Regions from separate parts of the Homo sapiens genome. Here region 2 is linked to region 1. Evidence: promoter capture Hi-C in 16 types of primary human blood cells and fetal thymus (Javierre and others, 2016). All regions are on one chromosome and are shown on one strand. The core of a region is centred on a gene start or on the middle of the fragment in contact, and the rest is flanking DNA. Distances in the headings are between cores, read along the strand shown.

Region 1 (4,974 bases), core at 2,355-4,854:
GGAGAATGTGCATAGGTTATATGCAAATACTGTATCACTTTTTATGAGGAACTTAAGCATCTGCAGATTTAAGCATCTAAAATCTAGAACTAATCCTGATTTACTCACTGTCATTCACTGTTACAGATTTTTGACAGGGGTCCTGCAATTAATCCCCAGCCAATACTGATGGACGACTGTACCATATAATTTGCCTTCTTGTGTTTTACAGTCTGTTCTCTTCTTCCCAAAATATAAGCTCCACAAGAGCAGGATGTTTGCCTCTTGAACACTAGTATATCCTCAGTGTCTAGAACAAGGACTGGCACATAATAAGCCCTCAATAAACATTTGTTTAATGAATGAATAAATATAACTCATTTCCTCAAAAATCTCCAGTAAAGTCTCTTGTAACTAATAGTTTTGCTTTGGCAAAAGAAAGAACAGGGGCCAGGTGCAGTGGCTCATGCCTGTAGTCACAGCACTTTGAGAAGCTAAGGCAGGCAGACTGCTTGAGCCCAGGAGTTAGAAACCAGCCTGGGCAACATGGAGAAACCTGTCTTTACAAAAAATTAAAAAATTTAGTTGGGTGTGGTGGCACGACCTGTGGTCCCAGCTATTCAGGAGGCTGAGGTGGGAGAATCCCTTGAGCCCAGGAGGCGGAGGTTGCAGTGAGCCGAGATCGCACCACTGCACTCCTACCTAGGCGACAGAGCAAGACCCTGTCTTCAACAACAACAACAATAACAAAAAATACTCCTCGTTTGGGAGAGAAATAACTGTCAAATAATAAGAGTAAAATTGGAAATTCAAAAGTAAGTTGGAACTAGAAGTGGCTAGGGGAAACTCCTTACTGCCACCATCAATAATATAGATGGTGTGCTGGGAAAAGGATTTGAGCTATTTTTATATAAATATTTTTATATAAATATTAAATGGAAAGGAGACCCAGAAATTTGACCCATAAATCTGAGGTTATATGTGTGAACATTAGCCATCATTCATGCTGCTACACACAACAGGGAGTCATGGAAGGAAGAAGGTCTGGAGTGTAAAGAGCATAGAAGTGAGGAGAACAATTAAAAGGCCATTGCAATACTAGTTCACGTAGGTGATGATAAGGACTTGAACAAGGCAATGGTAATGGGAATGATAAGGGAGGGAAGAATTCCAAATATCTCAGCTGTAGAATCAACAGGATTGGTGACTGACTGGCAGAAAGGCATGGTTGGGATGCATCCAAGGTTTCTAGCATGAGTAATTGAGTGAACAACGATGTAGTTATTAGATTTTTACAGTAAAAGGGGCAGGTTTTGCTGGGGAAATGGTGATTTTTAGTTGGACATCCAGTGGAAACATCCAGAAGAAATCTGGAATTAAACATGAATGCAGTATTTTGGAATTAATCTGTAAACAGAATGCACAAATAGAAGAGACAAGAGGAAGGTGAACATATAAAAACGGTGGCCAGGAACATGTGAGAATTGGGTAAAAGGAGAGAAGTCAACGAGAAATCAGAAAGAAGTTGATATACATGCCAAAGAAGGAAAAGAAGTCAAGAAGAACAGTCAATATTGTCAAATACTGAGTAAGATGCCAGCTGAGAGAAGGTATTGGGTTTGACAAAATAATTGTTACTGGATGGTGGAGGTAGAAACCAAATTGTTGTAATCTAAGGAGTGAATGACAGAACAAGAGGACACTAAATTAAAGCTCTGCTGATGAAGAAAATAGTAAGGCAGTAACTTGAGGATGAGTCATTGTCTATAAAGGATTTTTATTCCCCACCATAGTCCTAACCTAACATTTGACATCTATCTAGTAGGCACTCAATACCTACTGAATGCAATAATATTTTCATTTATAGACCAGGTCTCCTATAAAATAGTCCAGTGTTTATGTCCACATAAAACAGCACAAAACAGATTCATCATTCTGGGTGGGTAGAGGGATTGAAGGAAATAAAGACATTTCATATTCTATATTATGTTTTGGGTTAATTGGCAAGAATAATTACTTCTTTCTCACCCCATCCCTGACTATACACACACCCAAATTATAGATTATAGAGGAGAAAGGAATTAAATGACTCCTGAGACCAGAACTGCATAGTCCAAAAAAAAAAAAAAAATTCAGCAATCTTACTTTATTAAAAAATTAGGCATCAAGATGCTGCAATTTGCCTTACTTACATATTTAATTGCTCTTAGGTTAGATATATAATATGGGAAACCTGGAAAAAAATTTTAATGGTATAATAAACGCTTACAACCTAACATTAAGTGAAAAAAGCAGCTGCCTTATTGCATATGATCTCAATTTGGGAAACAGGAAAAAATATAAATACAAACACACATGCACACACACACACAAAGTCAGAATACTATAAGAAAATAAACTGAACGGTCACAGTGGCTCACGCCTGTAGTTCCAGTTACTCAGGAGACAGAGACAGGTGGATCGTTTTGAGCCCAGGAGTTCAAGACCCGCCCGGGCAACATAAGGAAACTCCATCTCCACACAAAAAAAGTAAAAATTAGCCAGGTGTGGTGGCTCATGCCTGTAGTTCCAGCTACTCAGGAGGCTGAGGAGGGAGATCAGTTGAGACGAGGAGTTCGGTGATGCAGTGAGCCGAGACTGCGCCACTGCACTCCAGCTTGGGCAATATAGAGCGAAACTCAGCATCAAAAAAAAAAGAACATCTTTCTATTCTGAATTTTCCCAATTTTCTACAATTAAAAACGCTTTAAAGATCTCTATAAAGTCAGTCAAGGGAATTTCTATCTAAGCACTTACCAGCAATTTGAGCTCCTTCTCTTTTGGTCTAGGTGGCTCTAAAATAACAATAAAGGCTACAGTGATTGAAATTCACCAGACTTGAAATAGACTGCAGCCTTCTTCCTTCCCACCTTCTTAGAATCTTTGTCCTATTCATCTTCCTTACGCTTCCCCGGGTTCTCTTACTTCTGGATTCTAACAGTGAGTTGTGAGAAGCAACGCGGAAAACGGAATGGAGACTCCAGCTTGTTTTAAACGAGCTGTATTACCCCGCACAGTGCAGGAGAAAAGATAATTGGCTCAGGTCTCGGCTCTGCCATCTACCACCTGTGGAGCCTTAGATAAGTCAGTTCTTATCTCTGTCACTCAACGGTCTCGGTCTTGTCATCTTTTACATGGAATGTCATGAAATATACAGTACATTGCAGGAACTGCCTCAGGTAAAGACTTCTAGGGTTCAGTAGGTCTCAGTCGATCCCTCTGAGAAAGGCCGCACCCTAAATGCACAGACTCTGACTCTAAGGGGATGGGGTCGGGGAATCTGCATTTTAGTAGCTTCTCAGGTGATTCAGATGCTCAGTCAGGATTGAGAAACCAGGACTCTTCCCAGCCCTCCTGTTCTCTGATCCACTTCTCTGCTTCCTCCACGTCCTAACGATTCTCCAGTTCCCGCACAGCAGGAGCGGAGGGAAGAGGGGAGAGAAGGCACCGCTAAGGACCGCTGGCCCCGCCAGGCGGCCGACCTCCCCATTCCAGGGGCGCCAGCCGGCGGATTACATAACGGGCCTCGGGGCGCGTTCTCGCGAGGTTTCCACCGCCCCCTCCTCGCTCCACGTCAGAGGGAACCGGGCGGAGCGGCCAACATGGCGGAACGCAGGAGACACAAGAAGCGGATCCAGGTAGCAAAGCCGAGCTCTGGGCAGGGGGCTTCGGCGCGCTGGATAGTGGAAGGGGCGGGGAAAGCCCCCTAAAAGGGCGAGCGAAAGCAAGGGCGAGGTGGGGTGGGGTGGGGTGGGGTTCCGCCGCGAGGCAGCTGGCTGCAGGCTGCGCGTTGTGAGGGGCCTGAGGGGGGGCGGTGTTGGCGACGGCGGAGACAGAGACGGAGGTGGTGGTGGAGCAGCAGGGGAAGGAAGGAGGCGCCGCGCTCAGAATCCGGCTGCGGAGGCGCGGCTGTGGGCCTGGAGTTCCTGTGGTCGCGCTGTCCCGGGCCTGAGCTGGAAGGTCAGCCTCCCCTGGGGCGCAGACGCTGACCCTTCCCGGGGCTCCTCCCCTCCCTTCACCCCATCCTCTGGCCTTAGCTGGCCTGAAATTAAGGCCACGGTAATAGGGGTAGCAGGAGGCGGCGGACTGACCTAAAGCAGCTGGTTCTTTGTGCGCATAGACCGTAAGGGGGAATGATCTGGACTTGGTCAGCTGCCTCGGGGCCTAGGCAGGGATCTGCTCATCCAGATGTTCAGTTGCGTTGCCCTTCTTTCCCTTCAATATTATTAACTTAATAGTCCACTTGAAGCTTGCCGGCTTTTTTCCGGGCGACGTGGTGTAAACAACCACAACCTCGTTGGTGCTGCAACGAGCTGGTGGAGCCCAGAAACCTTTCACATGCCAGTGTGTCATCCTCGTAGTAACGTACATAACATCTCCCCCTAATTCCACATGCGTGTCATTTGTGCATTTCTTCCTTGCGATTTTCCCTGGTTCTTGTTCTTTGCCAAGAGGATTAATTATGTAGAACATCTTGGACTCAGGATATTTATTAGTCGTCTCATCAGCTGATGTGCTGAGAAACCTTCATAAGCCCTCAAATTGATCACATGTAGTAAATTGTTACTATAATCATAAATTGTTACATTCATCATTGCCTTTCTGTTCCTTACTATTTCATTGCTTAGAATGATTTTTTCTTTCTTCCATTTTATCCCTTCTTTTTTTTTTTAAGTTTATCGATTTATTGGCGTACAATACAGATGTTTTGAGCTATGCAAGTTAAAATTCTTCTGTAAACTTTTTAAGTGCTGTGAAAAAGACACACATGATCAGTAAATTTGGAATTTTGGAATTTGGCAGAAATAAAGTAGTTCCGAACAGGGTGCAGAAGGGAATTAGAAAGAGGCAGATTTCGAGTTCAGACAGATAAGACTAGGTCTTAAGATCAGTAGAAGTTTCTAATTATACTGTTCTTAATCTTTCAAGAGTTAGTGTTATTCCTCTGACGTGGGT
Region 2 (4,577 bases), core at 528-3,027, 110 kb before region 1:
ATTCTTCCCATTTTCCCAAATTGAGAGATAAGAGTCTGAAAGATAATTTAGCAGGTTTAAAAAGATAGATGTATTAGACCTAGAAACATATTTTACGGTCTTCCTCCCCAAATTGTACTATAAACAACCAGAAACTTACTTTTATTCTCATTGTACACTCATTCATTCATTCATTCACATATTCAACATGCATTTACTTGGTGCCAACCATGTGCAGGTGCCTGTGCTTGAGCAGTGGGGAGATGCCAAACGAGACACCTCTAGCCTGGAATTGCCCATGACCTGGGGAGAGAGAGCATGGGCAAAGGGCCCAAGGCCAGAGCATGCCTGGCGTGTCTGAGAATCAGCAAGGGCAGTGGCCAGGGTGGAGTCTGTGAGGAGGAGGGGGAGTGAATGAAGTCAGAGTGTTAGAGGACAGGGAGACCATTTGGGCTCTTGCAATAATCTAAGCATGAGATAACCGTGGCCTGGACCAGGGTAGTGGAGGTCTAGATGGTGAGCCATGGTCAGATGCTGGATGTACATTGAAGGCTTATTGTGGCCACAGGTGGGATAAAACCCTTAATCTCAAGGCTACGCTTGCTCTGTTATGGGAAATTGCATTTATATATTACATGTTGTAATTACAGAACTATGTTTGCAGTAGGAAAATAAGTGTAGTTGCCCAAAGCAGTAACGTACAGCCATCACGCGCCACCCTGCTGACTCTTTTTCTGTAACTTCATTTGTATCTGAGTGGCTTCACTTCACTTGTTATTCAGAAAGCCTCGATACCCTTTGTGTTGACGTTTGGTTACAGGTATGTAACCTGTTTGTAATCAACTTTGTGACACTAAGAGATTTATTTCTAAACAGCAACATAAATTCAAAATTTTCCCTAAGTGCCAAATCTATCATTTGCAGACATGTATGGGTGGAACTGAGATTCACTAACATTTACTGGGCGTTTAATACATGCCAAGTACTACATTGGGGCACTCACAGAACTGTTATGAATTGATCTTTCCAATAACTTCAAAAGAAGTAAATTTAAGTGTACATATTAAAATTTCCAAGTTTCCAAATATAGGCCAAGATTCCAAAAGTCTTTCCTTTGCTCTGCAATATATACTTACTCAGTGACATCACGTCATCTGCTGTTAGTGAGCACTGGTGAAGATCTAGGACTTGTAGATGCTTTAGCATGACCAACTGAGCCGGCGAGTCTTCAAAACCTCCACCTAGATCCTTATTGCAGGAAAGATCTAATTTCCTCAGCTCACCCAAATACCTAAAAGCAGCATCTACAAAGAAAGTCAGAATCCCATTCTGGTAGCTGGACACAGTGGTGTACCTATAGTCCCAGCTGCTAGGGAGACCAAGGCAGGAGGATTGCTTGAGCCCCGGAGTTCGAGTCCAGCTTGGGCAGCATAGTGAGATCCATCTCTTAAAAAAAGAAAAACCGGGCTGGGCGTGATGACTCCCATCTGTAATCCTAGGACTTTGGGAGGCTGAGAGGGTGGATCACAGGGTCAGGAGTTCAAGACCAGCCTGGCCAAGATGGTGAAACCCCATCTCTGCTACCATTCTGACATATCGCAAGGTGGTAAGAAGGTGTGGAACAGGGGTGGGGCCATGGTGCAGTAAGGGAGGTTGAGGGAACACACTGTGTTCACAAAAGACAAAAGGAGGAATAAGTGTAGACTTCCTACCATCTGGCCTTCTGTGAACCCGACCATGATTTCACACACACGCTTCCTAAGATCTGCATACATTGCCAAGGGTTTTGACATGAATCCTGCAACTACACTTGAGCATCCTCTCCTATTACACTTGAGCATTGGAGTTTACATAGATTTTTAGACTTATTCAAGCTGCCAGTGAATATTACAGGTTCTGTAAGTTGAAGGGGAAACACAATATCATTTCCTATTCTCTGTTAATATGGATACTATATACAGAGGAGTAAGTTTTAACTGTGGACGCCATCGAAGCCGTTCTTTTTATCAGTACCTATTCCTTCCTACTACTGAGCATAAAATAATGCTGACACTTTCAAAAGAGAAAACCTAGTAGTTCTAGCAGCAAAGAAACTTTATTTTTCCCAGTGTTTATCTTAACCTAAAATATACTGGCCTTTTCAGAGTCAGTCATACTAAAGGCTTATTTTTATAATCATGAAAGTGTATGTTCTCTATAAAATATTTAGAAAATAAATAAAATATAAAATATGTATATATTTTTGAGATGGAGTCTCTTCTGTCACCCACATCGGCTCGCTGCAACCTCACCTCCTGAGTTCAAGCAATTTCTCCTGCCTCAGCCTCCCAAGTAGCTGGGATTACAGGCGCACGTACCACCACGCCCAACTAATTTTTGTATTTTTAGTAGAGATGGGGTTTCACCATGTTGGCCAGGCTGGTCTCAAACTCCTGATCTCAAGTGATCCGCCTGCCTCAGCCTCCCAAAGTGCTGGGATTGCAGATGTAAGCCACTGTGCCCAGCCTAAAGGAGATTTCAATTACCCATAATCTTATTCCCCAGCACAACCACTGTTTATATTTTGCTATATTTCCTAGTAACTTTTCAATATATATATTTATATGTATATCATATATAATTATACATGTAATCTTAAATCCAGCCATTGTTAACTCACCCAATATTTTGACACTCTTTTGTGATAATCCACATGAATGTAACTTCAGTACTTTCAGATTTGAGGTGCTTTTTAATCCCTGAGCAATACTGTTCAGACTGCCAACAATGTCTCTGTTAATGGAAAGATCAAGTACTTCGAGACTTTGCAGCATAGGTAGCAGTTGACCTAGAAGGAAAGAAATCCAAATAAGAAGGGTAGGTAGGAGGGGAGTGGAGTTTTACATCACCTGGGGATATCGTGACGTAAAACTCCACTCCCCTCCTACATACCCTTCTTTAAATTCAGAATAAGACAAAACACAGCAAACTTCCCAAGCTATCCAGTGGGCATCTTCACTTTTTTTTTTTCTCTTCAAATTCCACTTACCCAGAAATGTCCCATCTTCTGACGTGAGGGAGCAATCCACAAGCTCAATCATTTGTATCTTGCTCCCTTTTTGGAACTTCTGAAGGATCAGAGGCAAATTTCCTCCCACTTTACTGTTCCAAGACAAATTTAGCTCTTCAAGTTCAGGAATCATCTCAAATGCTTCTCCTGTTAACAAATGGCCCGAAAATTCTGTTGGTCACTAGTCAGAAAAGCAGGGAATTCATTTCAGAATCAGCACAACCATGATTAATGGAGTGTGGAAACTGGGCCAGGTACTGTCCTGTTTGGCACCGAGGAACAGAGAGAAGGAAAGAACCCAATTCCTTCATAGCAGGGCGTGCTTCTCTAGATTTACAGGCACAGTCATTCTAATCCCTCCAAAATTCTGAAGCCATGCGTATGAGCTAAACAATTGTTGTTGTAGAAAAATCCACCTATTGGTAGGGTGGTTTTAGGAAGCTGCTTTTGTGGTGGTTCATCTGCTTTCCCTTAGCCCCTCTCTCTGGGATCAGCATTTCTGAGAAGTTTGACCAGGGATAGAAGTGAGGCAAAGCAGATAACTGGCCACCACAGAGGTAAAGCTCTCTCCAATGTCAAGAATATCACATGCCTATATATATATATATATATATATATATACACACACACACACACACACACACAAGTATATATATACACATATATACATACACACACATATACATATACATATATATATATATGAGGAATATCACATGCAACCTGAACTGACCACTACAGAGAGAAACTAATAATAGAGCATCAGGCACTAGAAGCTTATAACAGCCGTGCTGCCTTAAGGGGTAAAGGAGGGTGCAGTGACACAGGGATGAAAACTAACATTTCTGAAACCATTACACACTGGAAAGCTCCCAGGGCTGCAGAGTGGAGGCTGGGAGAGAATAGGAGAAGTGACCAAACAGATCTGTCCTTAGGAATGATTTTCACTGCCTTGCGGGTAGACACATACATGGAAAATGTACTTTCTCAATGTGCAAACAATTAAGCATTCTGGCAAGTCCCCTGTATCTAGAACCCTCTTTACTACCTGTCCCTGGGTTTGAACTTCTACCATGGTTTATTCATTCCATGGATTAAGGTTTTAGAAGTCCAGGAACCCCATGCTAAAATGCGTATTCCCCAGGAGTTATAGCATCTTAAGCCAGCAATGAACAGGCATCATTTTTTGTGCTATTACCAGTCAATTGGGGGTGACTTTCTATAGCCCTGAGGTGTTCCCCAGGCTCAGGGAGAAAGAGCTCATGATTGATTAGTTATGTCTGCAGTGGTCATGGTACTGGAGTGCCATGCATTTGCCACTCGGTACTAAACTATTATAATGGGTGTAACAATTTTGAAATGCCTTCTGATTTATGTTCTCTTATCAAGAAACCATTTATTTTCCCTATACCCCATCTGCATTAAGGTTGAGTGAAGAAGATAGAGTATGGGTGATAGGTAAGCCCCTCCTGATGGGAGAGGATGCAGAAGTCCTTCCAGAGAAGAAATAACTCTGGGAGAGGGAAAAGGGCGCAAACATCAGAACAAC

What was found. Contacts are between HindIII fragments. The CHiCAGO score rates a contact against its expected background, and 5 or more counts as called.
Region 2: a fragment that was not itself captured here is called in contact with the fragment with the promoter of SEC62 in region 1 in 2 of 17 cell types (total B cells and naive B cells); the score reaches 11.6 in total B cells.

What each region holds. Positions count from the first base shown.
Region 1 is chr3:169,963,203-169,968,176 of GRCh38, forward strand. It overlaps SEC62 (SEC62 preprotein translocation factor), which reads left to right and starts at 3,605. Exons shown (of 8, transcript NM_003262.4): 1 at 3,605-3,656. The coding sequence starts at 3,621. It also overlaps the pseudogene FHL1P1. RefSeq lists an enhancer at 3,284-3,723. The HindIII fragment of the contact is 8,040 bases long and covers 1-4,265 here.
Region 2 is chr3:169,853,698-169,858,274 of GRCh38, forward strand. It overlaps LRRC31 (leucine rich repeat containing 31), which reads right to left. Exons shown (of 9, transcript NM_024727.4): 4 at 3,008-3,175; 5 at 2,639-2,806; 6 at 1,116-1,283. Among named protein-coding and RNA genes, the nearest start is that of LRRC31, 14 kb to the right of the region's middle. The HindIII fragment of the contact is 4,049 bases long and covers 1-3,802 here.